Linked DNA regions of Homo sapiens: all the other regions are linked to region 3. Evidence: promoter capture Hi-C in 16 types of primary human blood cells and fetal thymus (Javierre and others, 2016). All regions are on one chromosome and are shown on one strand. The core of a region is centred on a gene start or on the middle of the fragment in contact, and the rest is flanking DNA. Distances in the headings are between cores, read along the strand shown. Region 1 holds the start of CYB5R4 (cytochrome b5 reductase 4). Region 2 has its middle 4.2 kb from the start of PHIP. Region 3 holds the start of TENT5A (terminal nucleotidyltransferase 5A). Region 4 has its middle 3.6 kb from the start of LCA5. Region 5 overlaps HMGN3-AS1 (HMGN3 antisense RNA 1).

Evidence for each region. The method cuts DNA at HindIII sites, captures the fragments that hold promoters and counts their contacts. A CHiCAGO score of 5 or more calls a contact.
Region 1: a contact is called between the fragment with the promoter of CYB5R4 here and the fragment with the promoter of TENT5A in region 3, in 3 of 17 cell types (neutrophils, naive CD4 T cells and total CD4 T cells). The highest score is 6.4, in neutrophils.
Region 2: a contact is called between a fragment that was not itself captured here and the fragment with the promoter of TENT5A in region 3, in 1 of 17 cell types (total B cells). The highest score is 6.9, in total B cells.
Region 4: a fragment that was not itself captured here is called in contact with the fragment with the promoter of TENT5A in region 3 in 2 of 17 cell types (fetal thymus and total B cells); the score reaches 5.4 in fetal thymus.
Region 5: a contact is called between a fragment that was not itself captured here and the fragment with the promoter of TENT5A in region 3, in 1 of 17 cell types (naive B cells). The highest score is 6.2, in naive B cells.

What each region holds. Positions count from the first base shown.
Region 1 is chr6:83,858,283-83,860,982 of GRCh38, reverse strand. CYB5R4 (cytochrome b5 reductase 4) reads right to left here and starts at 1,294. Exons shown (of 16, transcript NM_016230.4): 1 at 1,126-1,294. The coding sequence starts at 1,200. All of the region lies in intron 3 of RIPPLY2-CYB5R4 (RIPPLY2-CYB5R4 readthrough), which reads right to left. RefSeq lists a silencer at 1,174-1,223. The HindIII fragment of the contact is 3,476 bases long and covers 89-2,700 here.
Region 2 is chr6:79,081,093-79,083,792 of GRCh38, reverse strand. No RefSeq gene overlaps it. Among named protein-coding and RNA genes, the nearest start is that of PHIP, 4.2 kb to the right of the region's middle. The HindIII fragment of the contact is 1,520 bases long and covers 603-2,122 here.
Region 3 is chr6:81,751,324-81,754,023 of GRCh38, reverse strand. It overlaps TENT5A (terminal nucleotidyltransferase 5A), which reads left to right and starts at 1,343. Exons shown (of 3, transcript NM_017633.3): 1 at 1,343-1,593; 2 at 1,846-2,434. The coding sequence starts at 1,883. RefSeq lists enhancers at 272-321, 1,182-1,682 and a silencer at 1,142-1,271. The HindIII fragment of the contact is 5,877 bases long and covers 1-2,700 here.
Region 4 is chr6:79,539,656-79,542,355 of GRCh38, reverse strand. It overlaps a transcript of SH3BGRL2 not described here. Among named protein-coding and RNA genes, the nearest start is that of LCA5, 3.6 kb to the right of the region's middle. The HindIII fragment of the contact is 5,167 bases long and covers 1-2,700 here.
Region 5 is chr6:79,236,385-79,239,084 of GRCh38, reverse strand. HMGN3-AS1 (HMGN3 antisense RNA 1) reads right to left here. Exons shown (of 2, transcript NR_040671.1): 2 at 2,285-2,700. Among named protein-coding and RNA genes, the nearest start is that of HMGN3, 3.1 kb to the right of the region's middle. The HindIII fragment of the contact is 1,879 bases long and covers 405-2,283 here.

The sequences.
Region 1 (2,700 bases), core at 45-2,544, 2.1 Mb before region 3:
ACAGCAGAACCACAACACAAGCCTACGCAATTTAGGGCAATATTTCTTAGCCAGTTTCCTTTTCTGCGAAATAGAGACAATAAAAGCTTTCACTTCAAAGGATAATTGTGAAAATTAAAGTTAATACATGCAAAGCACTGAGAATATACACGGCCACCCGTAAGTACTTAAGAAATCTCTGGAAAGCTAATGAAAACCACAGATCCCTGAACCTATATTCATTCTGAACTAGAATCAGAACGCCAGGTCTAAGTGGAGAAAAATAAGAAAATCGATAAGGGTTCCAAACGATGCTAAGACTCAAGAGTTAACCGAGTGGCCCAAGTTAAGTGGAAGTGTCACAAACGAAAGATAAAGATATGGTTACAGAATGAGGAACTAACAAATAGGAACAAACAACATTCGCAAAAGAACAAAGAACACAATTTTTATTGAATTCTGCAAATATAAAATATATCTGTACAGTATTCCACCTGTTGCTAACAGCAACTGTGCTCAACAAGAACTCAAGAGTATTATTATATTTGCTTCGAAGTTAGCAAGTGATACTAGTAGAAAAGGCAATGACAAAACAATCAGGTACCAGAGGAAGAAAGAAAGGCAGTATGTCTTGGATAGTGTCTGTAAACCTGACCTAGCTCCCCAACTCCAGAAGTCCCCATCCTTGCACGGACGGTCACTGTCGCCACTGCCAAGCCTTTCCCTCCTGCGAGGGAACCCACATCGAGTGATGTGGTACAACTCCTTCAGGCAGTGAAGAACAAAAGACCAGGGAGAAGATGAGGTTGAGGGAAGGCGGCTAATACCGAGAGCCTATAATACCGCAAACACAGTGCCTGGCTCTGTCATATAAATTTAAATCGCGGGAAAGGACTTGGAGGAAGGGAACGGATAGAGCGGGATAAAGGACCAGAAAGAAGAGGGACTGCTAGGGGAAAGGGAGGAGGTAAGGAGAGTTTAGGGACTGTAGACAAAGTGGGATCAGAAAGAGGTTGCAGGCAAGGACAGCAGGGAACGACAGCTTAGAGAGGGGTGCAGGAGCTGGGAGTTGGGGCGGAAGAAGAGAACACACTGCCAGAGCTCGAAACGCAGCGAGGGGAGAGACTCACGGAGCCACCCGCTTACCTTGCTACGCCCCCCGGAGGCGACACGCTGCTGCGACCTGGGGGCCGGGAAAGACTGGGAAGGGACGTTCAGCATCTTCAAACCCCGGCCCCGGGCCCTGCCCGGGGATCGCCGCCAGACGGGACAGCACCTCCAGCTCCGGCTCTGTGGCCGGGCAGAGGCCAAGCCCCCGACCCACTTCCGGGGTCGCCAGGGGTGAGGCGCATTCTGACGCAGCACGTCCGCGGAGGGCGGAGCCAACGGGACGGAGGGAGGGCCGGCAGGGAGGAAGTACGCATGCTCAGCTAGTTCCGCATCCCGAACTTCAGCACCGGAGCAAGGTGACAGCTATTTCGTGGAAAGATTAGAGAGTGAAGCTGTTCCTTAGCCTTGGTGCTGACCGAATGTGGGAACAAATTCTTAGTCCTGTTAACCCGGAACAGCAATGTCTGTTCATTGTTAAGCAGTACCATCACACTACTTGAAATATGGACTAAAACACACTACTTGAAATATGGACTAAAACGAATTTTAGTTTCTCTGAAATTCTTTCCTGTAAGGCACTAGGCTGTAATGCAAAGAGCATCTCACACCTTTAAGAGCAAAAATATCAAATGTCAACAGCCACTACTGTGGGGTAAGAAGAAAACCTCACCTTTAATCATCCTTAAACTTCACCTTTAAGCATGCTGAGGGCTAATGAATGCGCGAAAGACGTTAGTAAAGTCACCTTCTGCTCTATTCACCCACTCACAAATTCTCCCTCCTTATGTAACTTCCTGTCTTCACTGGGAATTGTGTACTGATGCAGCTCACCTCCAGCTGTGGTGATGAAGTAACGTTTAAAAGTCAGATTTGGTTTGCATGCCATCCCTGCACTTAATGACTGAGCTGTCTTATGCAAGTTACTTTAGTATCTCAAAGTCTCATTTTCCCCATCTGCATAATGGGTTTATTAAAGATTAAAGGATCATGTGTAAACTACATACTGCAGTGCCTGATTAATATTAGGTACTGAATAAGTGGCAGTGGCTGTTTGTGCTATTCCAACATATTAATGGGAAAAGGACCAACACTGTGCAGGTAAACACCAGGCTCTAATGCTCAAAATCTGATGGTTTTTGTTTGTTTGATTGATTGTTTTGTGTGTCCCTTGGGGAACACATAGATCTTGAGAGTAGAATCCAATAAGGGAGAAAGTTTTCAGGAGAAGAAACATAGTTCTAAATAATCCTCCCCATCCTCCTTTAATTACTAATTTTTCCTAACTCTGAACATATTGTCATGCTTTAAACTTTCTCTGTTTAACTACTTAGTTCTTAAAGTGCCTAAAAAATCAAGGTTATGTTTGCAGAATCAGAAGAAAAAGTGTGTGACTATATGTGGCCATTCAAATACAAGCATTCAAATAAGGTAGCCACCTATGACATTCACCTCTATCCATTTTTATTTGCAATTGAAATGCTTATTATGAGAAGACTGAATTTGAGCTAAAAGAACCTCATGACTATAATTAACTGTATTACTTTGACTTTGCAAATTGCTTCTGTGTTCTCTCTCATTAAATGATGACATATTCTTCTAGAGTCTACACAA
Region 2 (2,700 bases), core at 113-2,612, 2.7 Mb after region 3:
TTATATTTTTAGAGTTCTTAGAATATATCCAAACTGAAAATATAACATGGGAATTGTTTCTCCAAATAATTACATATCTTATTTTCCGTATTTTACCTTTGGAAACTAACATTTCACTGATGGAAAAGAAGGAAACTTTTACAGAGACACAGAAAAAACTGAAAATGCCGGAATATCAGGGAAAGATGGAATTCTTACACAAGTACTTGCCAAAAAACCCAAAACACTGAATGACAAAAACAAGTGTAAAGTGTAACATGTACAAACTATAATAAGACAAAAAGACAATATACTTCTTCCTTCTCACATGATGCTACTTACCCAACATTTTTAAGAAAGATTTTCTCTAATGATGTCTTAGAGGCATTACTTCTGATACCTGTTAAGGGGAAATACCACATATATTCTTACCACAATATTCCATCTAAAGGCTATCATAGTTTGTCTATAAATCATTATCAGTTGGTAAATTTTGATGAGCATTTAAAAATCCACTCCAGCCATTTCGTCTGCACCTGTATTTTTAGGCACTCAAGTGTAAACATGAAAACTGTTAGTGTAACAAGATTTGTAGGTGTAATCTTAAAATCAAATTATAAGCTTTTCTTAAATTTTAGCACACACATCTTGGTTGAAAGATCTACCTGGTATCAATATTGTTTTAAATTTTTAACTATGATATAACTAATTTTTTTGTAATAGCTAGTCATTGTTTCAATAAACATGTATGAGAATATCTGTGAAAGAGAATAAAGCAACAGAGGCATAAGTCAGGGGGACCTTCGCAAGTACACACACATCCCCATATATGAAGAAAAACAAAAATAATATACAAATTAGATTGTATAATTAGGTCTCTTATAGGAATTCAGAAAATAGAGTATTTTTGGTTACAGTTAAATCTAAGTTGCTTTATTCTTAATTTTGAATTAGAACTTATATATGAGTCTCAAGTCAGACTTGTGAGTGCTCTGAATGTTCAGTCCTTATTCTTTCAAACACCTGTTCTTCTTTGTCATCAGTAGTGTCTACTTTGGTGTCCTTGATATCCATTATTTTTACTCTGTATAGATTCCTCACTATTTGTCAGATAAAACTTTCCCTTCCTTTTCTATAACTAAAATGCTTTTTCTTTGGGGTTCCTGAAGTTTATGGCTTTAGGCACATATAAAGGCAAGTGACTATGTAACTGTTTTTCTCAAATGCCATCTTAACATCGCATAGATAATAGTGTACTACCAGAGCCTCTGCACCCATTTTCTCCTCCCCTCCCCCACTTTACCTTCTCTTCTTTCACTGTTCTCTGTTCAACTCAGCCCACTCCCAGTCCATCAGACATCTTCCTATGATAGAACATGCCTACAGACTTCTCCTTTATGTTTCCTGCCATCTGGAACAGCTTTTTCTGCTTCATCCACTGTGTTGCTCCAAATCTTAGGGGAATATGTTCTAAAATTGTTTTTCTCCTTTAATCTTTGTAATTGTACTGTTAAAACTCATGAAGTGATCATTTAAAACAAACTATATAAATAAACCCATGAAGATGTGTATTTCTTGTGCAAATTAAGACTTATAAAAATACAAACTACTAGAATTATTTAACTTGGATAAAAAAGATTGAGTGAATTACTAACATTTAAATACATAAGGGATAACATGATTGTTGAGGACTAGCTATATTTGTTACACATTAAAAGGAAACGTGCTCTAATTTAAGTAAAAAGATTCCTCAGTGAGATATAAGGGAGAACTGTTAATGTTAAATAACAAAAACATTGTTAAATAATGGAATGGCTCACTTAAGTTGGTTATCTCTATTCTTTTTGGAGCAGCCAAATAGTATATCTGTTCATGTGCTTCAAATCTGATAAATATTCATGCTCTATGAAGAAGGATATGTGTGTGTGTGTGTGTGTGTGTGTAAGAGAGAGAGAAAGTCAGATAAGCATGGACAGAAACACACAATATTGGGGAGCAAGCCACAGTGAGGAGTGTGGCTTGTTAAATAAGATCCTTGACAGTTGTATTGTGTTCTTGGGGCAGATGAGTAGTTTTTTTTAAAGTACTTTTGAGAGAACAGTGTTTTCTACTTTTACATTTCTGTATTTCACAGGATAAAGCTTCTGCTATAGAAGAAATGTAACATCAAAACAAAAGCAAGATTTAACATGAAATTTTAAAAGTTGTACTTATAGAGATTTTTTGAGTTACGTATTATTCACCATACTACTGGAGATTAAATTTCATAAATGTATAATTTTTGTACTTATAAATACCATCCCATCTTGTTCCTGAAACAACTGAAATGATAGTATTTGATTATTTTATTGGAATAATAGCTTACAAGATCAAGACAAAATTTTTGTTAAATATTTATTTTGTTTCATGTGTTGCCACGTGAAAAGTGATGAATTTCACATAAACTTTTATATTTCAAGAAAAGTTTCTATATCTCCTAGAGAGACTATATTATGTAAAAACGTTAGGTCTTGGCTTTCCAAACTTTTACTATTATTTGTTAACCTTGTTATTTAAACTGCATGGAGATCTTTTTAAAGTGATATTTTATTTTTGGAAACCCATAAAAATGTTAAAATAAACAAACAGGAAAGGATATAGATGGAATCTGAACTATCCTTATATGCAAAAGAGTTGGCTGAACAAAAAATTGCAAGGATCATTGCTTTGGGAACTAAAATC
Region 3 (2,700 bases), core at 94-2,593:
CCCCCGCACCCTACCCCTCACCCCCGAGCCGCGCAGCTTGAGTGACTAGGCCGGGGCTCCCCCAGTTAGGAGGTGCGGGCTGTTTTTCCTCCCAGTCTGGGCGGGCAGGGCTGAGCAGGGTTTGGGGAGTATTCTGTGACCCTGGCATTCTCCCCTCTGCCCCACCTCAGCCCCCGGCAGCGTCTAGGCGCTGGGAAAGCTGCTCCGGGTTAGTTGATGGAGGCAGCGAGCTGCCGAAGAGACGGCCACAGCTTTCTAGCAAAGAGTGGTGGTGGCGCGAGTGAGCGTGCGTAGAATTAGCTCTGCCGAAGTCACCGAAGCTGGAGGAGAGAATTCATTTTATTCTTGAAACTCCTACTTTTACGTCTCGTGGAAAACCAAATCGTATTCCACTGACACTATGATGCACTTAAAATGGCCAAACTTTAGGGGGCCGCGAGGAACGCGCTTCGCCGCCTCCAATTTTGTCAGAGAACTCGCAGCAAAGGCACCGGACACCTAGCGGCCCTTTCCCTGGACTCCGGGGCAGCACGCACTCCCCGGGCGCGCTCTCTGCGCCCACTCGGCCCGCCCAGTCCTCGGCCATTGGCTGCTCGCCCGCGTCTGCTCCGTGACGCGCCCTGACCCCCGCGAAGTACTGGCCCCTTGGAGCCACTCGTGCGCAGGAGCCGCGCACGCCCGAGGCCCGTGGTGCCGCCCCCGCGCCTTCTCGGGCTCGCCCAGAGCTCCCCGGCGCGCTTCCCGAGGTTTCGAGAATCGAAACCCAGTTATCAACAAGCCCTTCCCACTCACGCGCCGTGACTGATTTGCGTGCAAGAGTGGACTCATGAGTCCACACTTGGATCGGGTTTATCAATGGAGTAAATGGTCTACCTAAAAACCGAGGTTTAAAAGAGCGGTCGTGAGGAACCTCCGGAGCCCAACCGTGATGATCTAAAGACGGGCTGAGTCCGCGAGAATTTTGGGAAGTTTCTGCAGTTGCAGGATTTTAGTCGTGATCTGGTTTTGATGACCACTTATGATTCCTGGGGCATTTAAAGTGTCTCCTCCTGGGGAAAATGAAAAGAGATTTGTGGGAGGGGGCGTACATAAATTAAATGTATGTATAAATACACGCATCTACGGGCGCACACAGTATCCGCACATACAGCCCAGGACCTCACGCTCACCGGCAGTCGTCCCGCACTAACTGCTGGGCTAGTCAGCTGCGTGCCCTGCGGGCGGGGGAGGGCAGAGGGGGCGGCGCCCTATGCAGATGAGGAGGGTGTGGCGAACGTGCCGCTCTGGGCCCCGGAAGCGCAGAGAAGCCCGGTATAAAAAAAGTACTGAAGACATTTTCCCCGCACAACTGCTAAAGCTCCAGAGACACGAGCGTGTGTGGCAGCAAGAGCCGCCAGTTCGGGACCACCGCAGCTGGGGTGGCAGCGGCGCAGGAGGGGTCGCGGGGAGGGAGTGGTGAGCGCAGGCGGCAGGGGTCTGGGAAAGACGAAGTCGCTATTTGCTGTCTGAGCGCGCTCGCAGCTCCTGGAAGTGTTGCCGCCTCTCGGTTTCGCTCTCGCTCGCTGCGCTCCTAGAAGGGGCGGCCGCCTCCAGGTGACACAGACGGGACTCTCGCTTGCGCTTTCCAGATGCATCAGAGATACTTTTGGTGCGGGGCTGCTCTGCGGGGCGCGGTGCGCGGCTGGGGACTGTAAGGGCCGGGGGAGGGAGTCTCCGAGGAGGCCCGGGGTCAGGGAACTATCGGGGGAGGGGGCGCTCTTTTCCTGGCGGGCCTCTGCTCTCCGCCGCCGCGCGTGCTCTCCGCCGCCGCGCGTCCTCACCGCGCTCCTTTCCCTTTCTTTTTAGGACTGACCAGGGCCAAGTGGCGCTCGGCGGGCACTACATGGCGGAGGGTGAAGGGTACTTCGCCATGTCTGAGGACGAGCTGGCCTGCAGCCCCTACATCCCCCTAGGCGGCGACTTCGGCGGCGGCGACTTCGGCGGCGGCGACTTCGGCGGCGGCGACTTCGGCGGTGGCGGCAGCTTCGGTGGGCATTGCTTGGACTATTGCGAAAGCCCTACGGCGCACTGCAATGTGCTGAACTGGGAGCAAGTGCAGCGGCTGGACGGCATCCTGAGCGAGACCATTCCGATTCACGGGCGCGGCAACTTCCCCACGCTCGAGCTGCAGCCGAGCCTGATCGTGAAGGTGGTGCGGCGGCGCCTGGCCGAGAAGCGCATTGGCGTCCGCGACGTGCGCCTCAACGGCTCGGCAGCCAGCCATGTCCTGCACCAGGACAGCGGCCTGGGCTACAAGGACCTGGACCTCATCTTCTGCGCCGACCTGCGCGGGGAAGGGGAGTTTCAGACTGTGAAGGACGTCGTGCTGGACTGCCTGTTGGACTTCTTACCCGAGGGGGTGAACAAAGAGAAGATCACACCACTCACGCTCAAGGTAACACCACCCGAGATGCACTTGGGTCCTGACCCAGTCTGGGCCGGGTGTGACGGGGAGCGGGCAGAGGGGCATCGGTTAAATGCCATGAATCTGTGGCCATCACGAGTTTGGGCGCGCGTTATTTCTTTGATTTTTGATTTTTTAAACCAGTAAACTGACGTGCGTGGACGGTGTTGAGTGTTTCAGTTTACTTGATGCTTTGGCGCTACAACTCTTCTCCCAGGTCCTCCTCTGCCCTCTCTTCTCTTCTTTCTCCTTATGTT
Region 4 (2,700 bases), core at 135-2,634, 2.2 Mb after region 3:
GGTTGCATTGCAGTGAGCTGAGATCGCACCATTGCACTCCAGCCTGGGCAACAAGAGTGAAACCCTGTCTCGGAAAAAAAAAAAAAGTAGGATATAGAAAAGGCAGGCTAGGATCTGAGAAACAAAAGGCATATAACTGGCACAATTCCAGTTCAACTCTGGCACTGGTGTAAGTGGTGGTACTCAGTGACTTCATGATGGCCACCAGCAGAAGTTGCTGGGTCCTGGAGAGAAGAGGGATAGACTGTTGCCTGGCAGAGCAGTGGTCCTGGTATCTTGCCTAGTGGGATGACCAGTAGAGGCAGGTATGTTTGTAAGTATGAGACACTCTCTAGGAAGTCCCAGAAATTATTGGTGGGGAAGTCTTTGGAGGGGAGGGGTGCTATAAAGCAGAGGCAGTCAAAAAATAACAAAATTTGGTTAATCTCATCTGTATTTACAGACTGGGGAACTTGTAATTACAAGAGTTTTTCTTAAATAAAATGTGAAAACAAGCCCACCAGACTGATCTATGAACCTATTTGAATAAAATTATTATCATCACTTTTGGGGACATCTATTAGCTTTGTCCAGTATTTCTTCTTCTAGTAACAGCATTCCAGTTTTCCTGTGGAGAATCACCTCACTATTCTGAGCAAACATGAAAGATAAGGTGACTTTATCATATTCTTTCCCGAAGCAAACTCTTGGCCACAGTACTTACTAATAGTTCATATTCAAGTGTGGGCAGTCAGAGTTAATACCAAGATTTCTGCTGGACCAATCAGGAAAGAGATATTCTTTTTCCACTGGGGTTGTGAGGTAAATAGAATGTAAATCTGGAGCACTGGTGGCCATACCTGGAAGGGAAAGCCTGCCTTAAATAAGACCAACACGTAGAAAAGTACATCCAAGAGACAAAGAGAAGAAAAAATTTTAATAACATTGAGCACTTGGATCCAACCATACGTGGAGCTAGGTCTACTAGATTTTTCTGTTATACAAACCAATGCATTCTTTTTTTTTAAGCCATTCAGAAATTGAGGTAAAATTTACATACAGTGAAAAGCACACATATTTTATATATTTTAATGAATTTTGATAAAGGAAACTTCTTTTTTTTTGAGACTGAGTCTCACTCTGCCGCCCAGGCTGGAGTGCAGTGGTGTGATCTCAGCTCACTGCAACCTTTGCCTCCCAGGTTCAAGCAATTCTCCTGCCTCAGCCTCACGTGAAGCTGGGACTGCAGGCACACACCACCACGTCTGGCTAATTTTGTATTTTTAGTAGAAATGGGGGTCTCACCATGTTGGCCAGACTGGTCTCAAACTCCTCACCTCAAGTGATCTGCCCACTTCGGCCTACCAAAGTGCTGGGATTACAGGCATGAGCCACCATGCCCGGCTGGAAACTCTCTTTAACTACCACGTCAGTCAAAACAGCATATTCACATCACTCCAAAAATAACTTTCAGTCCCTTCCACTTGATCCTACCTCCATCCCCACAGTCAATAACTGTTCTAATTTTTTCCAGTTTAGATGAATTTTGCCTGTTTTTGAATCACTTATTAATGGAAGTATACAGAATATATTCTTTTGTGTCTGACTTCTTTTGCTCAATATTGTCTTTAAAATTAATCCGTGTTAATCAGTAGTTCATTCTATCGATGACCAGCATTATGTTGTAAGTATATACACATTTTTACAAACATCTCAAGTTTTCTTTCTCCATTAACAAAAAAAAACTCGTACATTTCATCAAGTGATCAGAAACTGTATCCTTTAAACAGAGCAATAATCAAAGGCTACTAGCTTTTTGTACTGCAAAATCAAGTATTCATAGCAATCAGATTAGACTACATTTGTTTTCATCAGAGCAGCCCACTTTCTAGGTATGAAATTATACTATTTATTTATTTTATTTATTTATTTATTTATTTTTGAGACGGAATCTTGCTCTGTTGCCCAGGCTGGAGTGCAGTGGCGCGATCTCGGCTCACTGCAACCTCCGCCTCCCGGGTTCATGCCATTCTCCTGCCTCAGCCTCCCGAGTAGCTGGGACTACAGGCACCCGCCACCACGCCCAGCTCATTTTTTTGTATTTTTATTAGAGACAGGGTTTTACTGTGTTAGCCAGGATGGTCTTGATCTCCTGACCTCGTGATCCACCCACCTTGGCCTCCCAAAGTGCTGGGATTACAGGCATGAGCCACAGCACCCGGCCAATTATACTGTTCTTTACACCCAACTCAACCAATCCATTCGATTTCTCTTAAACATGCAGCATATTAGATACTGTTTCAAATTTAGTGTTATATGCTAAAACCAACTATTTACCTAGAATCTATTAATAAATTTAAAATTTCCAAGCAACATGAGATCAAGAAGTTAGAGAAAAAATTTTTGAATTTTTGTTATGTATCACATTTCTGTAAATTATATAAAATTGTGACACTGCTTTTCTTCTTTTGTAGAATGGTATGAAATAGATGACTGAACTTTAGCTAAGGATAATTATACTTATGTGCTTTCCAAGATACTATATATAGTATGTCCCCCCACTTTACAAATTATGGTCATTGTAATTTCTCTGTCTACAGTTAGAGAGTCTATTTATCTACCTATTACTTTTTTGAAACTTCTAACCAACCATTCAAACTCGACACTAGTTTCCCCAAAGGAAAATGAGAATAATCCTACTAGTAAGCATTTGTAGGAATA
Region 5 (2,700 bases), core at 95-2,594, 2.5 Mb after region 3:
TGAGGATTTGGGATCAGGGATTTTCATCTCCCAGGGGCCCAAGGAGCTGCCTAGAGGGGCTGCCTGGGAAGAAGAAGACACTTTTCTAGGTATCTGGATGTGTGCAGTTTTTAATCACTCTTCAGGTTCCTTGCAACTACAGAAGAGAAAGAAAGTGAAATAAACAGGTTGTGCCCAGCAAAACTGAGATGGAGCAAAAGCATGAGGTGAGGACTGTGGGGCGAGTTTCACCCACAGAATTACGCTCCTGCTCTGGAAGTATGTTGAGAACTCCACAGGCTTTTATAGATACCTGTCATCAGAATCCAAGTACCGGCATTCAGCAAATATTTGTTGAGAGCAAGGGCCTAGTCTATTAAATACTCTAGTCCCCGAATTATAGTGTAAGCAACACATGAAAAGCTTGTTTGAAAATGCAGATTTCCAAGCCTAGCCATTCAATACCTTGGGACTGGGGCCTAGGGATCTGCACTAATATCAGGCAGCTCATTTGATTTGGGACCGTTAGTTCTTGGACTCTTATTGTTGCTTTGTAAAAACTAACCTTGGTCTCTTCAAAAGTTAGCACCCAATCAAAGTAGAGACTTGACTGGAAAATACAAACAAAATATTCTTTTGCCACCTCTTATTTGTTGTTTTTGATGTTGTTTTGTTACACACCTGAATTCTTCACTGTGTATTTTTTGACCTATTTATGGAAGATTAGTAACTTAATCTGGAATTACAAACTATCAGAAGCAACACAGTATCATTTTCACTTTTCCCCTTTCTTCCTTTCTCCCTCTGTCTGTCTCTCTCTCTCTCTCTCTCTGTGTGTGTGTGTGTGTGTGTGTGTGTCTGTCTGCCAATGTCTCTGTCTCTTTCTTTGCCTTAATGATAGTCATGACTATCATTTGTTTTGCCCTGCTGTCTGAAAAATGCAAAGTAGGTGTACAGTTGCAACTATCAAAAGCAACAATATGTACATTCTGGATCTGACTTCTCCAGTAATTTGTCATTACTTACAGCAAAAGCCTAAGGGACCCTGCCTGTGTCTGCCTGAAAGAGGAAAAGAGGGACAGTTCAAGAAGGAGGTGATCTGCAAGTCATTCTTTCCCTTGAAAACTTCCTCTCAAGCCTGGTGTGGTGGCTTGCACCTATATAACTACTCAGGAGGCTGAGGCAGGAGGATCTCTTCAGCCCAGCAGTCTGACGTGCAGTGAGCTATGATTGTGCCACTGCATGCCAGCCTGGGCAACAGAATGAGATCTTACCTCTAAAAAAAAAATTTTAATATTAAGCATTTTTTTTTCGGAATGTCAAAGATCCACAACATTCATTAGCAGTGGCATTCAATTTTTTTGACCAAGACCATACTAAAAATATATTTCATGTCACAATCCAACATACACACATACATATCTGTGTTGTGTATGTGTTTATATGAGCACATATGGAAAATAGAAACAATTATCTTATGAAACATTACTTACCTTTACCATATATACTCTGCTATTTTCTATGCTTGGCCCTTTCTTTGCTTTTCTTAGCCTTCCCTTCTCCCTTCTCCCTCTCTCTCTCTCTCTCTCTGTGTGTGTGTTTGCGTGTGTGTGTCTGTCAATGTCTCTGTCTCTTTCTTTTCCTTAATGATAGTCATGACACTATAAATGGTTTTGCCCTGCTGATTGAAAAATGTGAAGTAGGTGTACAGTTCCAACAGTTTTGAGTAGGACAAAAGAGGAGAGGAGCTGGAATTGGAAAACAAGTTTGTTCACTATTTTTTTTCTTTCTGTCTCAGTCAGTAACTCTGTTAATTTATCCAGGTCTACCTTAGCTAAGATAGTATATACATCCTACTTTTACTGTCTTAGAGGCTGATATTCCAAAGTAGTAGAAATGCTCAGTGGAATATATTGATAAACAAATGAGTCTGTACTTCTTACCAGCTTGACCTCCTCACTGTCTTCTATGTGACACCCTCATTTCTGCCCAGATGTCTTTATCTCTTAACCTAGAATTCTAGCTACCTGCTAAATCATTCTCTTTGCCTACTCTTCTTACCTCCAGGGCCACCAGTAGAGGTTTGCACTGACTTTCCCAGATCTTGAAGGCTACTAAAGGTACAAGGGAGAACACTTCATTTCCTAGAGTAGTGCTCAGCCAGGTGCAATCTACATCAAAGGAAAGATAAGCAATGCTGTTGTTTTTCAACCGAAGCTGTTATTTTCATAACTTGTAAATGAACTAAAGATTCCAAGAACTCGAGGTCCTCACAATCAGCTTTCTTCATCCAACAAGCAAGCTTCAATTTCATCGTAGCATTTTTATTGTGTGCAGTAAAAACATTCACAATTTTGTTTGCTGTTGATGATCTGAGTGTTTGGTTTTGAAAAAAAATTAACAAAGAAGCCAATTTTGTGAGTTATTTTTCATCACAGAGGAGAAATATTCACCTTAGCACTACCTTTGTTGTGGCACCTTTCCATCTCCATGAAGAAAAATAGCCATCCAGTCCAGATTGCAAGTGCTACTCAGTATCCTTCTCACACATATCTTACTAAAAATGTTTTCACTGACTTTTTCTTTATTTAACTATCAAGTATTTGGCAAATTAATATCTTGAAAGACATCTTCATTATAAATATTATTTTAATGATAAAATTATTAACTTGTAAATTTTTATCTAGCTCTAAGCAATTGGTTTTTATCTTAATTCGTTTC